Regions from separate parts of the Homo sapiens genome. Here all the other regions are linked to region 5. The links are contacts of gene promoters, found by promoter capture Hi-C in human tissues and cell types (Jung and others, 2019). All regions are on one chromosome and are shown on one strand. The core of a region is centred on a gene start or on the middle of the fragment in contact, and the rest is flanking DNA. Distances in the headings are between cores, read along the strand shown.

Region 1 (3,481 bases), core at 25-2,524, 300 kb after region 5:
CCTACAGAATCCCTCAACCACCTGTGCCTTCTAACCCCCCTTCCACAGGTCCCGCCCTTTCTGTTTTTTGTTTTTGTTTTTGTTTTGAGACAGAGTCGCACTCTGTGCTGAGGCTGGAGTGCAGTGGCACTGTGTGGGCTCACTGCAACCTGTCTCCTGGATTCAAGTAATTCTCTTGTCTCAGCCTCCCGAGTAGCTGGGATTACAGGCGTCCACCATCACGCCCGGCTAGTTTCTTTTTTATATTTTTAGTAGAGACGGGGTTTCACCATGTTGGCCAGGCTGGTCTTGAACTCCTGACCTCAGGTGATCCGCCCGCCTTGGCCTCCCAAAGTGCTGGAATTACAAGCGTGAGCCACCGTGCCCGGCCAGGTCCCTCCCTTTCTGCCTAAGGAAATTACACCTTCCAGGCACTAATTCATGATTTTCCCTGCAATTCCTGTCTCTCTAAAATGAATAAAACCAAACTGTCTTGAGCCGCCTCGGGACCACTTACTCCAGGCTTCTTGGGGTTGTTTTTCCCTCGGCCAAGGTCTCTCCTATTCGGCTCCGAATAAACTTCTTTATTTTACATAGTTTGGCTTTTTCCGTTGACAAACCACAAGCCAGGACTGGGTGTGTCTCATTCGTGAATCGCTGTTTGCTCAAATGAACTCTTTGTTAACGTTCCTCAGTTTAATTTTTAACAGGAGAAAAAGTGGACACTGGGGGCCCCACAGACCGCTGCTCCTCCCAAGCACGAACCCCACACCCGAGTCGGGATCACCCACATGACCCTCCCGTGGCCCCCGCACAATCTGGGTAGACGCGTGGCTGCGGGCGCGGAGCTGCCCATAGAGGGCTCTGGAACCGCAGTCGCCGCGCAGAGACGAGACAGGACGCCTGGTGTCCCGGCTACCGGCCCAGCCACACCGAGCAGTCGAGGGGACCGAGGGCCGAGCGGCTCCAGGAGGACTCGGTCCCAGATCCCAAAGTCGCCCGCAGGAAAGCCAGGGTCTCGCCACAGTCGGTTCCGGTCGGTCCAGGCAGCCCCTCCCCCGTCTCACGACACCCGGCCCCAGACACGCACCATTTCCTGGCTTTCAGATGTCCCGGGGTCCTCTCTACACCTCCTGTGACTACAGCAGGGCATAGCGTAGGTGACAGAGTGACAGAAGCCTGGGCAGAGGAACCAGGTCCCTCTCGGGGCTGGAAAGACCGGATCCCAGCCGCAGCCCGCGCAGGGACAAAGGTGAGGTAAGGAATGCGACCCCCTCAGTGTCTGGAGGAACAGTGGGCAGGGACCCGCCACAATGCCTCTGATTGGATGGAATGCTAGGCCCCGCCCCCCATGTCTGAGTGACAGCGGAAGCCCTGGGTATCGGGCCCTGCAGAGCCAGACAGACGGATTCTGACCACAGCTTTTCCAAGGGCGAGCTCCTTCCTGCACTCTGGTTATTGGATATTTGCATTTCAGCCAAACTTGCTATTGATAGAGGAGAACACTAGCGTCTTCCTCACTCAAGGGACTGTCCCTGCTCCTTCGTTCTGCATGGGGTCACAGGAGTGTGCAGGGAATTTCAGATTCAGTGTCCACAGGAGCCATCTCCTGCCTCAGAGCAGCAGGGGAACCGAGACCAGGCCAGACACGACTGCGCCAGGAGGAGAGGCATATGTCTTGGAGCGGGCCGCAACTGGGGATGAGGCATGGCTAAGACTTGCTCTCACACCCCCATCCCCTCCTCACAGTGTGAAAATGCTTCCTCCTTCCAGATCTTCATTTTCACCAGCAGGAAACTCTCTCCAGGGGTTAAGTTAAGCTTTTGACCTAAATAAACTGCCAACTTCATGAACCCTTTATCCAGGTGACGCTCCCAAACATTTCTGTCTCTAGCCTGATCTTCACACATTTTCTTTTCTTTTTTTTTTGAGACAGAGCCTCGCTCTGTCCCCCCAGGCTGGAGTGCAGTGGTGCAATCTCCACTCACTGCAACCTCCGCCTCCTGGGTTCAAGTGATTCTCCTGCCTCAGCCTCCCCAGCAGCTAGGATTACAGGCACATGCCACCGCGCCTGGCTAATTTTTTGTATTTTTAGTAGAGACAAGGTTTCACCATGTTGACCAGACTGGTCTTGAACTCCTGACCTCAAGTGATCCACCCGCCTCGGCCACCCAAAGTGCTGGGATTACAGGCGTGAGCCACCGCGCCTGGCCCACATTTTCTTTATATATATGAATATCTCTGTCGGATATAAAATGCTTTAGGAATAAATTCTTGGTCCCACGAAGTAAAACTAGCACTTAGGGGAAAGTTTCATTTGTTTAGCAAGGCAATTTACTTCTGCAGAAGTGTGCCACTTGTGTCAATCAAGATCACAAGAGCACAGAGAACAAAGGTCACCGGGGGTTTTTTTATCCTTAATGCGGTCCCTATCTCTGTGTCACTCCTTCATGGGCTGGGGTTCGACCACACAATCTGAGCTGACCCGACTGGCTACTTGTACGTATTTTTCTAAATATAGAAGGAGAGGGGAACGTGAGGTACAGAGATGGAGCGTGTGAGACGTGCAGTTTCGGGGGAACAATGGGTACAGGTAACCAAGGGAACAGATGTGAGTTATTGATTAGAGCTGACGGGAAGGGGGTAGGCTGTTTTACAGTAACTAGGGGCAAGGAGGAACAGGAAAGTTGAGCTGGAGAACAAAAGACAAGGAAGTTAGCAGGCTAAGTCTTTGAAGAGAAACTCAGAGAGGCCAGGCGCGGTGGCTCACGCCTGTAATCGCAGCACTTTGGGAGGCTGAGGCGGGTAGATCACGAGGTCAGGAGATCGAGACCATCCTGGCTAACATGGTGAAACCCCGTCTCTACTAAAAAATACGAAAAATTAGCCAGTCGTGGTGGTGGGCGCCTGTAGTCCCAGCTACTCGGGAGGCTGAGGCAGGAGAATGGCATGAACCCAGGAGGCAGAGCTTGCAGTGAGCCGAGATCACGCCACTGCACTCCAGCCTGGGTGACAGAGTGAGACTCCGTCTCAAAAAAAAAAAAAAAAAGAAACTCAGAGAAATTTACTGTATGTTACAATTCCTCCCTTTTAATTTTCTTATGATTTTTTCTCTTTAAACTTTTTTAACGTGTTTTGGCTTTGCTGTTTGATTTGATCTTTTAAAAGGAAAAGCTTACTTGAATAAGGTGGAGGAGAACTAAGGGAGGTTTCAGTAAATGCTGTTCGTACAATCCTTTGTATTAGCCTACGGATGCATGGTATGACACAACGCCTAACAAGAATAAGTACACCTGTTACGACTGTAAAAGAAATAAGTATTGAGGCTATGATTCTTTATTGACTGAACTACTTTCCTAGCCATCTTGAAATAGGGTCATTGACTCCAGAAATTTTAGCTAATTCATTGGATAAAGCGGTAAGTCTTTGCAAGGCCTTTGTTATGCTCTCACTGGGGGCAGTGTTGTTTGGAATGAAGGTACAACACTGGGTTTTAATCATA
Region 2 (3,313 bases), core at 153-2,652, 340 kb after region 5:
CACACCAGCCTGGGCGACAGAAGGAGACTCCGTCTCAAACAAAAACAAAAACAAACAAAGTACCTTCCCAGCTAAGTGAAGTGACTGGCTCTTGGCCAAGGGAACCCCCAAAACACCCTGAAAATTGAGTGCCTCTGTATGACAGGATGGGAGGTGAGACAGGTCTCCTTATACCCTCTCCCTTTAGGAGTTTACATGCAGCAACTGACGCACATTCATGTAAAAACAGACATTCTCTGACTGGAAAAACAGACTCCTTGTGGCAACAAGATACCAAATTACAAACAAGACCTAAGGCCACGCAAGGCAAAGGTAAAGTTACGTCTTAGAATTCATAAAATCTAGAGAAACAGGACTGTTTTTTGGCTGGGATGGAATGAAGTGGCAGATAACAGACCCCCTTCCTTCAGCATTCCTTCCTACCTCCTCCAAACTTTAGACAAAGCTTCACACTCTCAACCAGCTGCCACCTACAGAATCCCTCAACCACCTGTGCCTCCTAACCCCCCTTCCACAGGTCCCACCCTTTCTGCCAATGGAATTTACACCTTCCAGCCTTGATCCATCATTTTCCCTGCAATTCCTGTCTCTCTGAAATGAATAAAACCAAACTGTCCTGAGCCGCCTCCGGACCACTTACTCCAGGCTGCTTGGGGTTGTGTTTCCCTCGGCCAAGGTCTCTCCTACTCGGCTCTGAATACACTTCTGTATTTTACATAGTCTGTTTTTTTTCCGTTGACAAACCACAAGCCAGGACCGGGTGTTTCTCATTCGTGAATGGCTGTTTCCTCAAATGAACTTTTTGTTAACGTACCTCAGTATAATTTTTAACAGGAGAAAGTGGAGGCTGTGGGCCCCACAGACCGCTGCTCCTCCTACGGACGAAATCCACACCCGAGTCGAAATCCGCGCATGACCCTCCCGTGGCCCCCGCACAAGCTGGGGCGTCGGGCTGCGGGCGCGGAGCTGCACAAAAGGGCTTCGGGGCCAAGGCCGCAGTCGACGGGCAGGGACGGGACAGGACGCCCGGAGTCCCGGCTGCCGGCCCACCCACATCCAGCGGCCGCGGGGACCGAGGGCCGAGCAGCTCTAGGAGGACTCGGTCCCAGACCCCGGAGTCGCCCACAGGGAGGCCCGGGTCCCGCCAGTTCCAGGCAGCCCCTCCCCCATCGCACCACTCCCGGCCAGCACACGCACCATTTCCCGGCTTTCAGATGTACCGGGGTCCTCTCTACAGCTCCTGTGAGTAAAGCAGGGCATAGCGCAGGTGACAGAGCGACAGAAATCTGGGTAGAGGCACTAGGTCCCTCTCGGGGCTGGAAAGGCCAGATCCCAACCGCCGCCCTCGCAGCGACAAAGGTGACGGCAGGAATGCAACATCCTCCGTGCCTGGATGCACAGTGGGCAGGGCCCCGAGCCAGTGCCTCTGATTGGATGGAATGTTCGGCCCCGCCCCCCACGTCTAAGTGACAGCGGAAGCCCTGGGTATCAGGCCCTGCGGAGCCAGACTGACAGATTCTAGCAACAGCTTCTCTAAGCTTACACGAGCTGCTTCCTGCACTCGGGTTATTGGATAGTTGCATTTCAGCCAAACTTGCTATTGTTAGAAGAGAACACTAGCGTCTTCCTCACTCAAAGGACTGTCCCCGCTCCTTCGTTCTGCACGGGGTCACAGGAGTGTGCAGGGAATTTCAGACTCAGTGTCCACAGGAGCCATCTCCTGCCTCAGAGCAGCAGGGGAACCGAGACCAGGCCAGGCAAGACTGCACCAGGAGGAGAGGCATATTTCCTCGAGCGGGCCGGAATTGGGGATGAGGCATGGCCAAGACTTGCTCACACACCCCCATCCCCTCCTCACAGTATGAAAATGCTCCGTCCTTCCAGATCTTCATTTTCACCTGCAGGAAACTCTCACCTGGGGTTAAGCTTCGGACCTAAATAAACTGTCAACCTCATAAACCTTTTATCCAGGTGACGCCACCAAACAATTGTGTCTCTAGCCTGATTTTCACACATTTTCTTTATATATACAAATAACTCTGACTCCAGCGACCCCATGTATGTCAAACCCCAAACCCTGCCCAGAAGACAGCCCCAGGCTCCAGAGGTACAACACCAGAAAGGACAGAACCCCACAAATGCGTCTGCACGAAGGTCTTCTGCTTTCCAGGGCCCTACAGCTTCTCGGAATCCACACTCCTTCTGGAGCTGCTCTGAGCAGCTGGAGGCCACCTGTAGGGGAGGGCGGGCTGCCCAGGAAGCCCCCAGGAAAAGCTCCTTTCCCTTCCTTTGCAGGCTCCAGACTGGCCTCAGCGTGGAGTCACTGGCCTCGGGCTCTGCTGCCCCTGCAGGTTATTCAGCTACTTCTCACCCCATTGATCAGTTCCATGACACAAACACCCTCAATCCCATTGTGTGAATAAGACACCAGCAGAGTCCCTGCTCTCCTCCTATGTTTATGTATAAAGTGGGGAAGGAAAATTCTAAGATAACTTAAGTACATTTAAAAGACTTCCAGATCGCGGTGGAGGTGGCAGCGGAGGGACCCACGGTCACTGACACTGCAGCACCTCCAGGCCTGTCTGGTCAGAGAAAGGGTGGAAAGCTGGAGATGGATGTGGATACGTGGAGGGAGCAGCCCTGGGAACTGGGCTCTGCAGCAGCGCGGCTCTAGGGCCTGGAGCCCGGGAGAGCACAGATGGGGGCTCCTGGGACAGGATGCTCAAAGAAGAGTCAGGTGGCTTCCATGAAATGGGGTGCTATGGCAGCTGGTGAGGGCCTGTGGCTATCATAATTTGGGACGTGAAAACTTGGATTCCGTGGGAATTTATGAAGAGGAAGGCTCTGATGACAAAGAAGTCATCGATGAGGAGGGGGATGAGGGTCACTGGCAAGCTCGCTTCCTTATGGAAAGAAAAGTGAACACCCAACTACTGCTGCAAAATGGGGTGAAAGGATGAGACTCTCACTGTCAGGGAATAAACTGCTGCAGAACTCTTAGAGATTGCAAAGACCTTTCAACAACAGCCTGGGAGGCCGGGTGCCATGGCTTACACCTGCAATCCCAACATTTTAGGAGGCCAAAGTGGGAGGATCACTTGAAGCCCGAAGTTGAAGACCACCCTGAGCAGTGAAGTGAGACACTCCCATCTCCATAATTTTTTTTTTATTAGCCTGGAGAGGTGGTGTGTACCCTTAGTCTCAGCTACTCAGGAGCCTGAGGCAGGAGGATTACTCGAGCCCCAAAGTTTGAGGCTGCTGTGAGCTTTGATCAGGCTACTGTACTTCAGCAAGACACGGTCTCAAAAAAAAA
Region 3 (3,640 bases), core at 501-3,000, 380 kb after region 5:
TCGGCCAACGGCTCTCCTATTCGGCTCCTAATAAACTTCTTTATTTTACATAGCTTGGCTTTTTCCGTTGACAAACCACAAGCCAGGACTGGGTGTTTCTCATTCGTGAATCGTTGTTGTTGTTTTGAGATGGAGTCTGGCTCTGTTGCCAGGCTGGAGTGACGCCGTCTTGGCTGACTGCAACCGCCGCCTCCTGGGTTCAAGCAATTCTTCTGCCTCAGCCTCTCAAGTAGCTGGGATTACAGGCACGCGCCACCATGCCCAGCTAATTTTTGTATTTTTAGTAGAGATGGGGTTTCACCATGTTGGCCAGGCTGGTCTTGAACTCCTGACTTCCTGATCCGCCCGCCTCGGCCTCCCAAAGTGCTGGGATTACAGGCGTGAGCCACCGCGCCCGGCCCTAAACTCTTTAATTGTTAACGTACCTCAGTTTAATTTTTAACAGAAAAAAGTGGGCACTGGGGACCCCAAAGACCGCTACTCCTCCCACACGAACCTGTCAGAGATGATAAATTACTTTTCTAAAAGCTTTAGTAAGCTGTTCTTTGTTTCTTGAGACCGACTTCCTTGTCTCCTAGCTACCTGTTCTGTAAACAACCTTCCCGCTTTTGCCGCGCCCAGACAAGTCCAGATACGCCTTCCCGCCTAGTAACGGACAGTCCCTGTTCCTTCCCGTCTCATAGACCCTATTTAATTTGTGTGTGTGTGTGTGTGTGTGTGTGTGTGTGTGTGTGTGTGACGGAGTTGCCCAGTTGTCTCGCTCTGTTGCCCAGGCTGGAGTACAGTGGTGCGATCTCGGCTCACTGCAAGCTCCACCTCCCGGGTTCACGCCATTCTCCTGCCTCAGCCTCCCGAGTAGCTGGAACTACAGGCGCCCGCCACCATACCCAGTTAATTTTTTTGTATTTTTAGTGGAGACGGGGTTTCACCGTGTTAGCCAGGGATGGTCTCGATCTCCTGACCTCGCGATCCGCCTGCCTCGGCCTCCCAAAGTGCTGGGGTTACAGGCGTGACCCACCGCGCCTGGCCAGACCCTATTTAATTTTAAACCTTAGCCTATCGAGTTAGTTTAGATTGTGAGGTCCAACCCTAGCCAATGAGGAAAGGACACAGAAGTGCTAGAAACTGCGTTAAGGAGAAAAACCCCTGCCCTACCCCGCTCGCTGTGCTCTTGTGACTGGCGCAAGCTGCACCCTTGTGTAGAAATAAATTTGCTTTGCTGAGGAATTTTCTGCCTAGATGCTGGTTTTCTTTGCGGCACCGGGCACTTGTTTCTAACAAACCCCATATCCGAGGCGGGATCCCCCCATATCCCTCCCGTGGCCCCCGCATAATGTGGGGAGACGCGGAGCTGCCCAGATTAGGCTCCGGAGCCGGGGCCGCAGTCGCCGTGAAGGGACGGGACAGGAGGCCCGGGGTCCCGGCTGCCGGCCCAGCCCCACCCTGCGACCGAGGGGACTCGCGTCCACGACCCCGGAGTCGCCGCGTGGAGGCCCGGGTCCCGCCTCAGCCGGTTCCGGCCGATTCCAGCCCCTCTCCCAGTCGCCCGGACGCCAGCCCCCTCACACACACCATTTCTCGGCTTCCAGGGTGTTCCGGCGTCCTCTGCGTGGCTCCCGCGACTAGTGTAGGTCACAGTGCAGGTTACAGAGCGACAGAAGCTCTGGTGGAGGCACCTAGTCCCTCTCGAAGCAAGAAAGCCGAGATCCTGACCGCTGTCGGCGCAGCACTAAAGGAATGGACGGAGGGCGACTGTCCCTTCCCCCTTCCCCGGATGGACAGTTGACAGGGCCCCGCCCCAGCACCCCTGATTGGATGGGGCGCCAGGCCCCGCCTCCTCCGTGCTGAGTGACAGCAGAAGCCCTGGGTAACCGGGTCCTGCAGATCATGTCTGACTTGTTCTGGCCACAGCGTCTCTGAGCGAGCAGCCTCTCTAAGCGAGCAGCCTCTCTAAGCGAACAGCCTCTCTAAGCGAGCGCCTTCCTTGAGCCCTGGTCATCAGATATTTGCATTTCAAGGCGACTTGCTCCTTATTGTTAGAAGAGGCACTGTTAGCTTCCTCATTCAAGGGGCTGTCCCTGCTCCTTCCTTCTGCACGGGATCACAAGTGTGTGCAGGGCATTTCAGACTCAGTGTTCAATGGAGAGATACGCTTGCCTCAGAGCAGGAGGGGAGCCCAGACCAGGCAAGGCACGACTGCACCAGGAGAGAGAGGCAGATGTCTTCCAGCGTGCGGGAAATGGGATGAGGCATGGCCAAGGCTTCCTCACACTGCTATGGACTCCAGCAAGGTTTTCCTTGTAAGGGAGCTAACCAAGCCAGAACTTATTAAAGATTTAGAGGCTCTCAGTACTATGTATATCTATCCCTGGTGCATTGACAGTGACTGAAGACCCATTTTTCAGGACATGCTGTGTAGGACTGAGCCAGGGAACATGATATAGCATGGCACTTTTATCTCACATATAACCCCCAAGGAGCAGGGTTAACTGAAATGAAAGATGGTCTCAGGGGAAGCTGTAAATGAGAAATTCTGTCATAGAAATTATGATTTAGGCAGGCCGGGCGCGGTGGCTCATGCCTGTAATCCCAGCACTTTGAGAGGCTGAGGCAGGTGGATCACGAGGTCAGGAGTTCAAGACCAGCCTGGCCAACATGGTGAAATCCTATCTCTACTAAAAATACAAAAATTAGCCAGGAATGGTGGCGCATGCCTGTAATCCCAGCTACTTGAAAGGCTGAGGCAGGAGAATTGCTTGAACCGGGAGGCAGAGTTTGCAGTGAGCCAAGATCGTGCCACTGCATTCCAGCCTGAGACACAGTGAGACTCCATCTCAAAAAAAAAAAAATTATGTTTTAGCCATCTTTTTTTGAGACGGGGTCTCACTCTGTCGCCCAAGCTGGAGTGCAGTGGTGCGATGGCTACTCAATGCAGCCTCAACCTCCCAGACTCAAGCAATCCTCCCACCTCAGCCTCCTAAGTAGGTGGGACTACAAGTGCCTGCCACCATGCCTGGCTAGTTTTTTATTTTTGGTAGAGATGAGGTCTCATTCGGTTGTTCAGGTTGATCTCAAACTCCTGAGCTTAAGTGATCCTCCAGCCTCAGCCTCCCAAAGTGTTGGGATTACAGGTGTGCGCCTGGCCTCTTGGGCATCTTCATTGCTCCACACCTTACAATGATAAATTCAATATTCTGTGAATATTTCCTGGAGAAATTAGCACAGCCATAACTTGTGATAAGGTAAATCAGGTGTTGAAATTTGAACATTCCTGGAAACTTCATTTAATAAACCTAATTTTGCTTATGTGTGAAAGTATTCATACATATTCATTGTTCAGACACAGATAACCATGGCAAGATGAGGTGCTATGAAAAACTATGTTGGGACAACAGGTACTATCAAGGATTATCACTGGCAAACCGGGACACATGGTCAGATGATTTCTGAGGCAGTTTTGTACCTTATGTAAAGGTAGAAAGTGTTGGAACTAGAAGACATCGAGCTGGAGTCAGTTGCAGAATTGATGCTTTGCTTGGCATGTGGGGGACACTTCTCAAATATTTGCATTTGGTCACAGAAGTATTCCGTGTTGTGTGAGAGCAGAGGAAAAAGAGTAGACTTTTTTTCCACTCTTAAG
Region 4 (3,439 bases), core at 827-3,326, 420 kb after region 5:
TCCTTTCACCACCTCCCTATGGGTGCAGAGTGTGTCAAGTCAGGTCCTCCTATCACCTGGAACATCCCCCATCACCATGCTGCTCACCGAAGTGCTCAATAACCATGATCCCAGGAGACACTACATTGTTAGCTTTTCAGGTTCTTGCACCACCTCAGTGGAGTTGGTTTTCCTGTCCTTAGGGATAGTTTTCTCCCTTCATTAGTCTGAGAACATCAGAAGGGAAGAATCATTTCAGTCCTGTCCCCTTAATACCACCATCCAATTGGCTGACCAGCCATATATCCCCAAGGAAGGGATGGGGGAAGAAAAGCTGAGTGTTCTAAGGAAGTAGCTTATTGAGGAAGGGTATACCAGGAGACTCCTCCCACTACAGGGCATCATGCTGCTTCCCTACAAGGTCCCACCATCTCCACCTCAGGGTGTCCTCTGGGAGGAGTGACAAAGGGACTGATATTCACTTGACACTACAAGAGACTTGGCAGCTGTGGGCATCTTGGGGTGGCCCCAGGCAGCTCTGAAACCCAGGACCAGGAAACCATAGAGGATGGGCTGGGGACTCATCACTCTGTAACGTTTCCAAAGAGGAAACTTAATCCAAAGACATTCTCAAAAGGTGTCTCTGTCTAGGGATGATGAAGGGAGGACAGTAACAAAGATTTTATTTATTAATATTCATTTTTTTTACAGCGAAATGTCTGGTGGTTTTTCTCTGCTTCCTCTCATGTGAAATGTTCACAAACACAAAACCTTTTACAAAGAGCCATATATTGCTATGTATAAACAAAATGACAATTAAAATACTAGCCTCTGTTTGAAAAATAAACTGGGGGACAAGGAGTTCATAAAGTTGCTGTGAATTGAGGAGAGAAAGCCTGAGGAAGGCTCTGGAAGCCAAGGGATTTTCTGTCGGCCCTAGGAGGAGTTAGGATGAGAGAACACAGTGGTGGACTTGAGACCCTGCTGCCCACATCTTTGGAAGACTCGAAGGCGAACGGGTCACCCTTGGGAAGAAAGAAGGGACAGGGGACCACACAGACCACAACTCCTCCCACACACAAACCCCACACACGAGTCTGCCTGGTGACCTGTCATCACCGTGCAGCCTCCTCACCGGGTTCACAGAACTGCGAGCCAGGCTGGAGGCGAGATTGCAGTTAGATATTAACCAGGTGCCCTCAGCCCCGCTGCCTCGCGGGGCCGCCTCCCCAAGAGTCAGGCCACAGCAGATGCTGACCGCCGGCTTCGCCATTGTGCTTGGGGATGAGATCTCTGAGAGTTGCTCAAGAGTCGCCTGAGTTCTTTCTCAGATCCTGAATTCCAGCGGAAAGGCTGGCGCCAACCAGGCTGAAGACCCCACAAGGGAACCCACTCAGCAGAAGAATGCGGTTTCTTCACCTCCAGTCCCAAGAGTCACCCCTCACTTCCCCACCATCCAGCGACCCCACGCCCCAGCCGCCCCTGTCCACACCCCTAAACACCCCATCCCCAAACCTCTCAGGAAGGCGGATCTGGGGTGTCCTCCCCTCTCCCCCTATTAAACTGTTTCTGCTGCAGCCCTCGGCGTCTCGGTGCAGTGACTCGGGCCGCGAACCTGTGCCGGTTACAGCCGCACAATCTGGGGAGACGCAGGACTGCGGGCGCGGAGCTGCCCAGACAGGCCTCCAGGGCCAGGGCCGCAGTGGCCGCGCAGGGACGGGACAGGACGCCCGGGGTCCCGGCTGCCGCCCCAGCCCCATCGTGCGGCCGAGGGAACCGAGGGCCGAGCTGCGCCAGGGTGTCGCCGGCGGGGAAGACCTGGTGCCACCACAGCCGGTTCCGGCCGGTTCCAACCAGTCTCTCCTCTCACGCGTCGGGACACCAGACCTCACACACTCACCATTTCCCGGCTTCCGGCGTCCAGGTTCCTCCCTCTGCCTCCCGCTGTCAGTGCGGGTCCCAGCGAGACAGAAGCTGCCACAGACGTTCCAGGGCGTCTCTCAGTGACAGAACCCGGAGCCCAGTGCAGGGGCGTGGAGAAGACTCGGCGGGCTCTTTGAACCTTGCACCCTCCTCCGGTCAGTGCGCCTGATTGACAGTTCTCACGACCCCGCCCCGCGGCCCTGATTGGATAGTGCGCCAGGTCCCTCCCCCGGGCACTGAGTAACGGAAGAAGCGATCTCGGGCAGCGGAGTGGAACCTGATAAACAGATTCCAGACAGGCCTTGAGAGGACTAGCTTCCTCCCTGCGCTGTGACCTGACCCCCTCCCAGGGGACATTTGCATTTAGGCAGTATGTCCTGACCTTCCTCCTTTTTCCTCTTGGACAGGGACCCACAAGTCTGTGCAGGAAATTCCAGACTCACTGTCCAGTGGAGCTATCCCCTGATTTGAGAGCAGGAAGGGAGCCCAGGCCACACTGCAGCAGAAGGGAGGGGCTGATGTCCTCCAGGAATCAGGAGTTTTGGATGAGGCTGTTGGCTGCACAGGCCAAGCCTTTCTCCCACCTTATGTCTCAATCTACTAATTTTCAGTGCAGAATATAAAAACACCCCAACAAAGCCGGGCGTGGTGGCTCACACCTGTAATCCCAGCACTTTGGGAGGCTGAGGCAGGTGGATCACCTGAGGTCAGAAATTCGAGACCAGTCTGGCCAACATGGTGAAATCCCGTCTCTAAAATACAAAGATTAGCCGGATGTGGTGGCGCACGCCTGTAGTCCCAGCTACTCAGGAGGCTGAGACAGAGGAATCACTTGAACCTGGAAGGCAGAGGCTGCAGTGAGAGAGTGGGCGAGACAGAGGGAGACTCCGTCTCAAAAAAAAAAAAAAAGAAAAAAGAAAAAAGAAATAAATAAAATTGTTAAATGTGTGGAAAAACTGGAATTATATGGCGGCAATATTTTATAAAGCAAAAACTTGAACTAGCTCAGATAAGCAGCCTGCTGCATCCACACACAGTTCACAAGTCAACCACTTTCAGGAGGCCAAACATATTCCAAAGCTTGGAGGCCAGACGATAATTCCTGAAATGGAGCCCTAGGGTGGATCAGAACCTGGGGATGAGTCAGGGGCACTAATGGATTTAACTCTGGGAGTTCAATTTGCCCTCCTGTCTCCTAAACACAGCGTGGAAATGCTCCTTCCATCAAGCCTATAAATGTTATTGAATTAAATGCTTCAATCAAAGGCTGAGACATTAGACTTTGAATTTGAAAACATTCATCTTCATATTTTTATGAAGAATACCAGATATAAAAGCATTATGAGGCCAGGCACCGTGGCTCATGCCTGCAATCCCACCACTTTGGGAGGCTGAGGTGGGTGGATTGCTTGAGCTCAGGAGCTCAAGACCGGCCTGGGCAATGTGGTGAAACCCCCATCTCTATTTAAAAACAAACAAAAAAAAAGCGTTATTAACTGGGAGCTGGCACCCATGGTGATACGAAGAAAAAGAGGTT
Region 5 (3,381 bases), core at 683-3,182:
TCACTGAACTCCAGCCTGGGCAACAGAGCAAGACTCTGTCTCACAAAAGAAAAAAAAAAAAGAATTACTAGGGCCGGGCGCGGTTGCTCATGCCTGTAATCCCAGCACTTTGGGAGGCCGAGGCCAGTGGATCACGAGGTCAGGAGATCGAGACCATCCTGGCTAACACGGTGAAACCCCGTCTACTAAAAATACAAAAAATTAGCCGGGCGTAGTGGTGGGTGCCTGTAGTCCCTGCTACTCGGGAGGCTGAGGCAGGAGAATGGCGTGAACCCGGGAGGCGGAGCTTGCAGTGAGCTGAGATTGCGCCACTGCACTCCAGCCTGGGTGACAGAGCAAGACTCCGTCTCAAAAATAAAAAGAATTACCAAGGGTAGAATTAAGTTCACCTCTTCACTATATCAAATACAGAGAAATTTTTTGCTTCCTTAAATAGGAATCAAGCAACCAAAAAGCAGCATAAGTTCTGCAATAAATTCTTTTAAATACCCTCTTATTGATACACCTTACAGTCATTACTGGTTTGTGGTGGTATTTATTATTTTTTTATTTTTTGAGAGAGTCTCACTCTGTTGCCCAGGCTGGAGTGCAGTGGCGTGCTTGGCTCACTGCAACCTCCACTCCCAAGTAGCTGGGATTACAGATGTGCACCACCACACCAGGCTAATTTTTGTATTTTTAGTAGAGACAGGGTGTTGCTATGTTGTCCAGGCTGGTCTCCAATTCCTGGCCTCAAGTGATCTGCCCGCATTGGCCTCCCAAAATGCTGGGATTACAGGGTGAGCCACCGCGCCCGGCCTGTGGTAGTATTTATTACCACAATTTATTACACCCTGCTTGACAACAGGGACGTCCCTGATAGTCCTTGGAAAGAAATCACTCACAACATGATTTGACTTTTGGTATTATGCATATGAAAAACTACTATCATCATAAAAGTTGTAATCAAATAAGCATGAAAACTAAAATTTATGAGGAAAAAAAGGCCTGAAGTTGTAAGCTCACAGTAATATTGACTCACAATGTTGGACAAATAGCTTAATTATAAAGTTTATCGGATCCATGATTGGAATGGGATATTTTAATATATATTCTCAATAAATACAAAACTCACCAGACAGTATGCAAGTTGCTTGCATACTGTTAATATTTCTAAGAAATGTGTAGAGAACTTTTGTTTGAGGAGGACATGTATATTGTTTGTAATCATATGTACTCAAACATAATTCAAAATAAACTGAGGGACTGCATTCAGCTATGAGTAACAGGAAACACCCACAATGTTTCTATAATGAATAAGGTGCTTATTCTCACATGAAAGAACGGGGTGAGACCCATCTCTGCATAATGCAGCAGAGGAACAAGCTCCATGTAGGGTTTTTCGTTTTGTTTTTGGATAGTGCCATTGTAGCTCTCAACCTGCATCAGTAACACTCACTGTCCCTATGGACAAAAATGTTTATGTACAAACTGGACCGTACAGGAACCAAGTCAGATCATCAGACTATTCCCAACAATGACAATATGAACTGATTACTTGGCAGATATATTAGGGCCTTCAGGAATATCCAAATGGCAGCTGAATCTTTGATATGAAGCTTTTAAAAACATCTATGGAAATCCATAACTTTGAGAACATGGAGGTGAAGTAGCTAGTGGTGGATTAGAGGATACTCTTTTTTTTTTTTTTTTTTTTTTTTTTGAGACAGGGTCTTACTCTGTACTCTGTCACCCAGGCTGGAGTGCAGTGGCATGATCTTGGCTCACTGCAACCTTCACCTCCCTGGCTCAAGCGATTCTCCTGCCTCAGCTGGGACTATAAGCACGCGACACCACACCCAGCTAATTTTTGTATTTTTAGTAGAGATGGGGTTTCACCATGTTGACCACGCTGGTCTCGAACTCCTCACCTCAGGTGATCCGACCGCCTTGGCCTCCCAAAGTGCTAGAATTACAGGTGTGAGCCAGCACACCCGGCTGAGGATACTCTTGATTGGCAGGGCAAAGAATCAGGAAAATGGGCTAGATGACCATGTCCAAACAGCCCATATGCATCTGTCTCTCCGTATGATGCCTCCAAAATCTGACTAATGCGTTCTTCACTTCTGCATTCTAAACTTCCAGGAATTTAGGCTATTGATGCAGTCTACAGGTAACCATGAAAGAAAGAAATTCTGGGCCAGGCACAGTGGCTTATGCCTGTAATCCTAGTGCTTTAAGAGGCTGAGGCTAGAGGGTGACTTGAGGCCAGGAGTTTGAGACCAGTCTGGGCAACATAGCAAGACACCATCTCTACAAAAAAAAAAAAAGATGAAAAACCAAAAATAAAAAGATTAGCTGGGCTTGGTGGCACATACCTATAGTTCCAGCCATTTGGGAGGCTGAGGTCGGAAGGCCACCTGAGCTCCAGAGTTTGAGGTTACAGTGAGCCACAGTCGTGCCACTGCACTCCAGCCTGAGTGACAGAGTGAGACCCTATTTCAGAAAGAAAGAAAGAAATGAAGTCTGAAAAGTTTAGTTCCCATTACCCAGATTGACATGACACAATCCATGAAAGGCATCTCCCATTTTAGATTTTATTATTCTATCATAGCTGTCTCCTTATCCCAAAATCAATTATACAAAGAGCAGCCAGAATAAATAACAAGGAGTAAAGAACAACAGGTTAAAATAATAATTCACGAGACTACAGTCTGTGATAAACTTTACATACTTAGAATTAACAACAACTCTTTAATAGGAAGCAAAATAAAATTATTTGAGCCAAGAAAAAAAAAATGGGCTAGGTGTGATGGCTCACACGTGTAATCCCAGACTTTAGGAGGCTGAGGTGGGTGGATCACTTGAGGTCAGGAGTTCTACCAGCCTGGCCAACATGGTGAAACCCCATCTCTACTAGAAATACAAAAAATTAGCCAGGTGTGGTGGCACATGCCTGTAGTCCCAGCTTCCTAGGAGGCTAAGGTGGGAGAATCACTTGAACCCAGAAGGCAGAGGTTGCAATGAGCCGAGATCATGCCACTGTACTCCAGCTTGGGCAACAGAGCACAGAGCGAGACCCTGTCTCAAAAAGAAAAAAGAAGAAAGAAAAAAGAAAAAAGGAAAAAAAAGGAGCTGTTCCAATAAATATGATGGAATGTATATAATGTGGAAAGGGAATCAAGAACCTGCTAAATGAAGCAAGTAGGTTCATACCAACATTTATTAAGACTTATTTTTCAGTGGTCCTCAATCACAGAACAATTAAGCAACCATATACAATTTAACATACCTGAATATGAGAAACACATTTAAATTCATTGTTGGATTAAACACATTTCAAAATGGAAAGACAAATATTTTATTTACTGACCTAAAACAACACTACCTATGAAATTCATG
Region 6 (3,471 bases), core at 821-3,320, 450 kb after region 5:
GGGCAACAGGAGCAAAACTCCATCTCAGAAAAAAAAAAAAGACAAACTCAGAAATAAACATCCTAACTCAGAAAAGCATGGTGTTGCCATAGAACTGACTGTGAGGAAACTAACAGCAATACTTTCTATATTGTGTTTAAACTTGCACATACAAATTTTGGGCTTTCTAGCTTCTCTTAGGATTTCTTTTATACTTTCTCTGGGGGAGGGGGTGTGGGTCTCACCATTGTTGATTTTTCCTTCATCATGGTAATGCGAACAGCTATTTTTGTCTGGAAGCTTTTATATGTATTTAAATCATTGCAGAAATCAACTACTTACTTGTTGCCATTTGTAAAAATATACAGAATCTGTATATAAACCCCTGACAATCAGTTAGTTTGATACATTGTGCCCTCTTTTAATATGTGTGGAAACAAATAAATAGAACATTGTTCCAGGAGCAGTTAATGTGAGGAGTGAGGGGTGGAGCATTTCATAAAATAGTAGTTTATCCTTCAGAGAGCAGTTTCTAGCATAATAGACTGTGGGAGTGTGTGTGTGTGTGTCTGTGTGTGTGCTTATTATTTTTTTTTAAGGAAACAGTATCATTTATGCATTAGGTTATACTCAGACGTCATTTTTTTCATTCATTTTCTAAACGTGCCCATTTGTCCTGGCAGAAAATGCTATAGTTTCTAGAAGTTGATTGAAGATTTCATTTCATCTATTGACATCTCATGTTCAGCTCCTTTCTATTTAGCCATGGCTACCAGCTTCTAGTTCATAACGCTTTTTTTTTTTTTTTTTTGAGATGGAGTTTTTTTTTTTCCTCGCTCTGTTGCCCAGGCTGGAGTGCAGTGGTGTGATGTCGGCTCACTGCAACCTCTGCCTGCCGGGTTCAAGCGATACTCCTGCCTCAGCTTCCTGAGGAGCCGGGATTACAGGAGCGTGCCACCACACCCGGCTAATTTTGCGTTTTTAGTAGAAACGGGGTTTCATCATGTTTGTCAGGCTGGTCTCAAACTCCCGACCTCAGGTGATCCACCCGCCTCAGCCTCCCAAAGTGCTGGGATTACAGGCGTGAGCCACCGCGCCCGGCCATAACGCTTTTAAGTCTAGTATTTTTACTTCATAAACATATGGAGAAAGGCTAATGTTTTCAAATTCAAAGTGTGATGTCTTGGCTTTTGATTGGAGCGTTTAATTCATTAACATTTAATGGCATAAGGAGGGAGCATTTCCACGCTGTGCAGAGGGGACAGGTATTTTGAGACCTCAGAGTAAAATTCTTAATTGTCCCTCCCTTATCACCAGCTTCTGATCCACCCCGGAGCTCCATTTTAGGAATCATTGCCTGGCTTCCCAGCTTGGGGATATGTTTGACCTCCTGAAAGGGGGTCTGCTTGTGAACTGTGAGTGCAGTAGGCTGCTTCTCTGAGCTTGTTCAAGTTTTTGCTTTTCTTCTCTTTTGATTCTTTATGAAATATTGCTGCCATATAATTCCAGTTTTTCCACATACTCAACTATTTTATTTTGTTGTCCTGTTTTTATCTTCTGGGCTGAAAATGAGTAGATTGAGAGATAAGGTGAGGGAAAGGCTTGGCAACGTCGCCAACAGCCTCATCCCAAATTCCTGATCCCTGGAGGACATCAGGCCCTCCCTCCTGCTGCAGGGTGGCCTGTGTGCCCCGGGCTCCCCTCCTGCTCCGAGGTCCGGGAATGGCTCCACTGGACAGGGAGCCTGGAATTCCCTGCACACACTTGTGAGTCCCTGTCCAGGAGGAAAAAGCAGGAAGAACCCACTGAATACAATCAGGAAATTCTAAAATGCAAACGTCACTTCGGGAGGGGTCAGGTCACTCCGTTGGGAGGAAGCCCGCCTTGCCAAGGGTCGTGCCTGGAACCTGTTCATCCGGCTCCACTCAGCACTGTGAGATCGCTTCTTCTGTCAATCAGCCACCAAGGGGCGGGACCTGGAGCACTATCCAATCAGGGATGAGGGGGCGGGGATTGTGAGAACTGTCAATCAGGCACGCTGCAGGGAGGAGGGTGCGACGTTCAAAGAGCCCGCGGAGTCTTCTCCACGCCCCTGCGCTCTGAGTCCTGGCTCTGGCGCTGAGAGAGAGACGCCCTGGAAGGTCTGTATCAGCGTCTGTCGCGCTGGGACCCACACTGGCTTTTAAGGAGGACACCCGGACACCTGGAAGCTGGGAAATGGTGAGTGTGCGGGGCCCGGCGTCCCGAGGCAAAGAAGGGGCAGGTTGGAACCGGCCGGAACCGACCGTGAGGGGACCCGGGCCTCGCCCTGGGCGACTCCGGGGTCTGCAAATCCCAGTGCCCCTGGCGCAGCTCTGCCCTTGGTCCCCTGGGCCGCAAGATGGGGCTGGGGCGGCAGCCGGGACCCCGGGCGTCCTGTCCCGTCCCTGCTCGGCCGCTGCGGCCCCGGCCCCGGCGCCCTCTCTGGGCAGCTCCGCGCCCGCAGCTCCGCGTCTCCCCAGATTGTGCAGTTGTAACCGGCACAGGTTCACGGCCCGAGTCACTGCACCGAGACGCCGAAGGCTGCAGCAGAAACAGTTTAATGGGGGAGAGGGGAGGACACCCCAGATCCGCCTCCCTGAGAGGTTTGGGGATGGGGTGTTTAGAGGTGTGGACAGGGACGGCTGGAGTGTGGGGTCGCTGGTTGGTGGAGAAGTGAGAGGTGACTCCTGGGACTGGAGGTGAAGAAACCGCATTCTGCTGAGTGGGTTCCCTTGTGGGGTCTTCAGCCTGGTTGGCGCCAGCCTTTCCGCTGCAATTCAGGATCCGAGAAAGAACTGAGGCGACCCGTGAGCAACTCTCAAGAGATCTTATCCCCGGGCACGATGAGGAAGCCGGCGGTCAGCGTCTGCTGTGACCTGACTCTCAGGGAGGCGGCCCCGTGAGGCAGCGGGGCTGAGGGCACCTGGTTAATATCTAACTGCAATCTCGCCTCCAGCCTGGCTCGCAGTTCCTGTGAACCCGGTGAGGACGCTGCACGGTGACAACGGAGGGTCACCAGGCAGAATCCAGACTCGTGTGTGTGGGCTTTGTGCTTTGGAAGAGAAGCTGTGATCTGTGGGTTCCCCAGTCCCTTCTTTCTTCCCAAAGGTGACCGGTTTCCCTCCGAGTCTTCCAAAGATGTGGGCAGCAGGGTCTCAAATCCACCACCCTATCCCCTCATCCTAACTCCTCCTAGGGCTGGCAGCAAATCTCTTGGTTTTCAGAGCCTTCCCCAGGCTAACTGTCTCTCATCAATTCCCAGCAACTTTATGAACTCTTTGTCCCTCAGGCAATATTTCAAACAGAGGCATTATTTTAATTGTCACTTTCTTTTCACATAGCAATGTATGGCTCTTTTTAAAAGATGTGTTTTTGTGTTTGTGAACATTTCACATGTGAGGAAGCAAAGAATAACCACTTGACTCCAGTGTGAAAAAAAAAAAAAAAAAAAAAAAGCCGGGCGCGGTGGCT

The links. Contacts are between HindIII fragments. The study calls those that stand out against the background at their distance.
Region 1: a contact is called between the fragment with the promoter of ZNF69 here and a fragment that was not itself captured in region 5, in 4 of the 25 tissues and cell types used here (dorsolateral prefrontal cortex, hippocampus, lymphoblastoid cells and 1 more).
Region 2: a contact is called between the fragment with the promoter of ZNF439 here and a fragment that was not itself captured in region 5, in 7 of the 25 tissues and cell types used here (H1 embryonic stem cells, aorta, dorsolateral prefrontal cortex and 4 more).
Region 3: the fragment with the promoter of ZNF440 here is called in contact with a fragment that was not itself captured in region 5 in 6 of the 25 tissues and cell types used here (H1 embryonic stem cells, aorta, bladder and 3 more).
Region 4: a contact is called between the fragment with the promoter of ZNF441 here and a fragment that was not itself captured in region 5, in 1 of the 25 tissues and cell types used here (dorsolateral prefrontal cortex).
Region 6: a contact is called between the fragment with the promoter of ZNF823 here and a fragment that was not itself captured in region 5, in 8 of the 25 tissues and cell types used here (IMR-90 fibroblasts, bladder, dorsolateral prefrontal cortex and 5 more).

What each region holds. Positions count from the first base shown.
Region 1 is chr19:11,885,575-11,889,055 of GRCh38, reverse strand. ZNF69 (zinc finger protein 69) reads right to left here and starts at 1,274. Exons shown (of 4, transcript NM_001364730.1): 1 at 1,070-1,274. The coding sequence starts at 1,132. RefSeq lists an enhancer at 1,028-1,077. The HindIII fragment of the contact is 10,336 bases long and covers 1-2,476 here.
Region 2 is chr19:11,846,815-11,850,127 of GRCh38, reverse strand. ZNF439 (zinc finger protein 439) reads right to left here and starts at 1,402. Exons shown (of 4, transcript NM_001348719.2): 1 at 1,198-1,402. The coding sequence starts at 1,260. The HindIII fragment of the contact is 2,018 bases long and covers 1-1,732 here.
Region 3 is chr19:11,812,383-11,816,022 of GRCh38, reverse strand. ZNF440 (zinc finger protein 440) reads right to left here and starts at 1,750. Exons shown (of 4, transcript NM_152357.3): 1 at 1,573-1,750. The coding sequence starts at 1,575. RefSeq lists silencers at 1,346-1,415, 1,836-1,915. The HindIII fragment of the contact is 18,958 bases long and covers 1-3,640 here.
Region 4 is chr19:11,765,637-11,769,075 of GRCh38, reverse strand. It overlaps ZNF441 (zinc finger protein 441), which reads right to left and starts at 2,076. Exons shown (of 4, transcript NM_152355.3): 1 at 1,880-2,076. The coding sequence starts at 1,882. RefSeq lists silencers at 1,046-1,155, 1,606-1,745 and an enhancer at 1,816-1,915. The HindIII fragment of the contact is 15,674 bases long and covers 1-3,439 here.
Region 5 is chr19:12,189,053-12,192,433 of GRCh38, reverse strand. ZNF136 (zinc finger protein 136) reads right to left here. Exons shown (of 4, transcript NM_003437.5): 4 at 2,563-3,381. Among named protein-coding and RNA genes, the nearest start is that of ZNF136, 28 kb to the right of the region's middle. The HindIII fragment of the contact is 7,748 bases long and covers 1-3,381 here.
Region 6 is chr19:11,737,545-11,741,015 of GRCh38, reverse strand. It overlaps ZNF823 (zinc finger protein 823), which reads left to right and starts at 2,070. Exons shown (of 4, transcript NM_001080493.4): 1 at 2,070-2,199. The coding sequence starts at 2,197. RefSeq lists silencers at 1,892-2,086, 2,347-2,496 and enhancers at 2,097-2,176, 2,567-2,696. The HindIII fragment of the contact is 18,648 bases long and covers 1-3,471 here.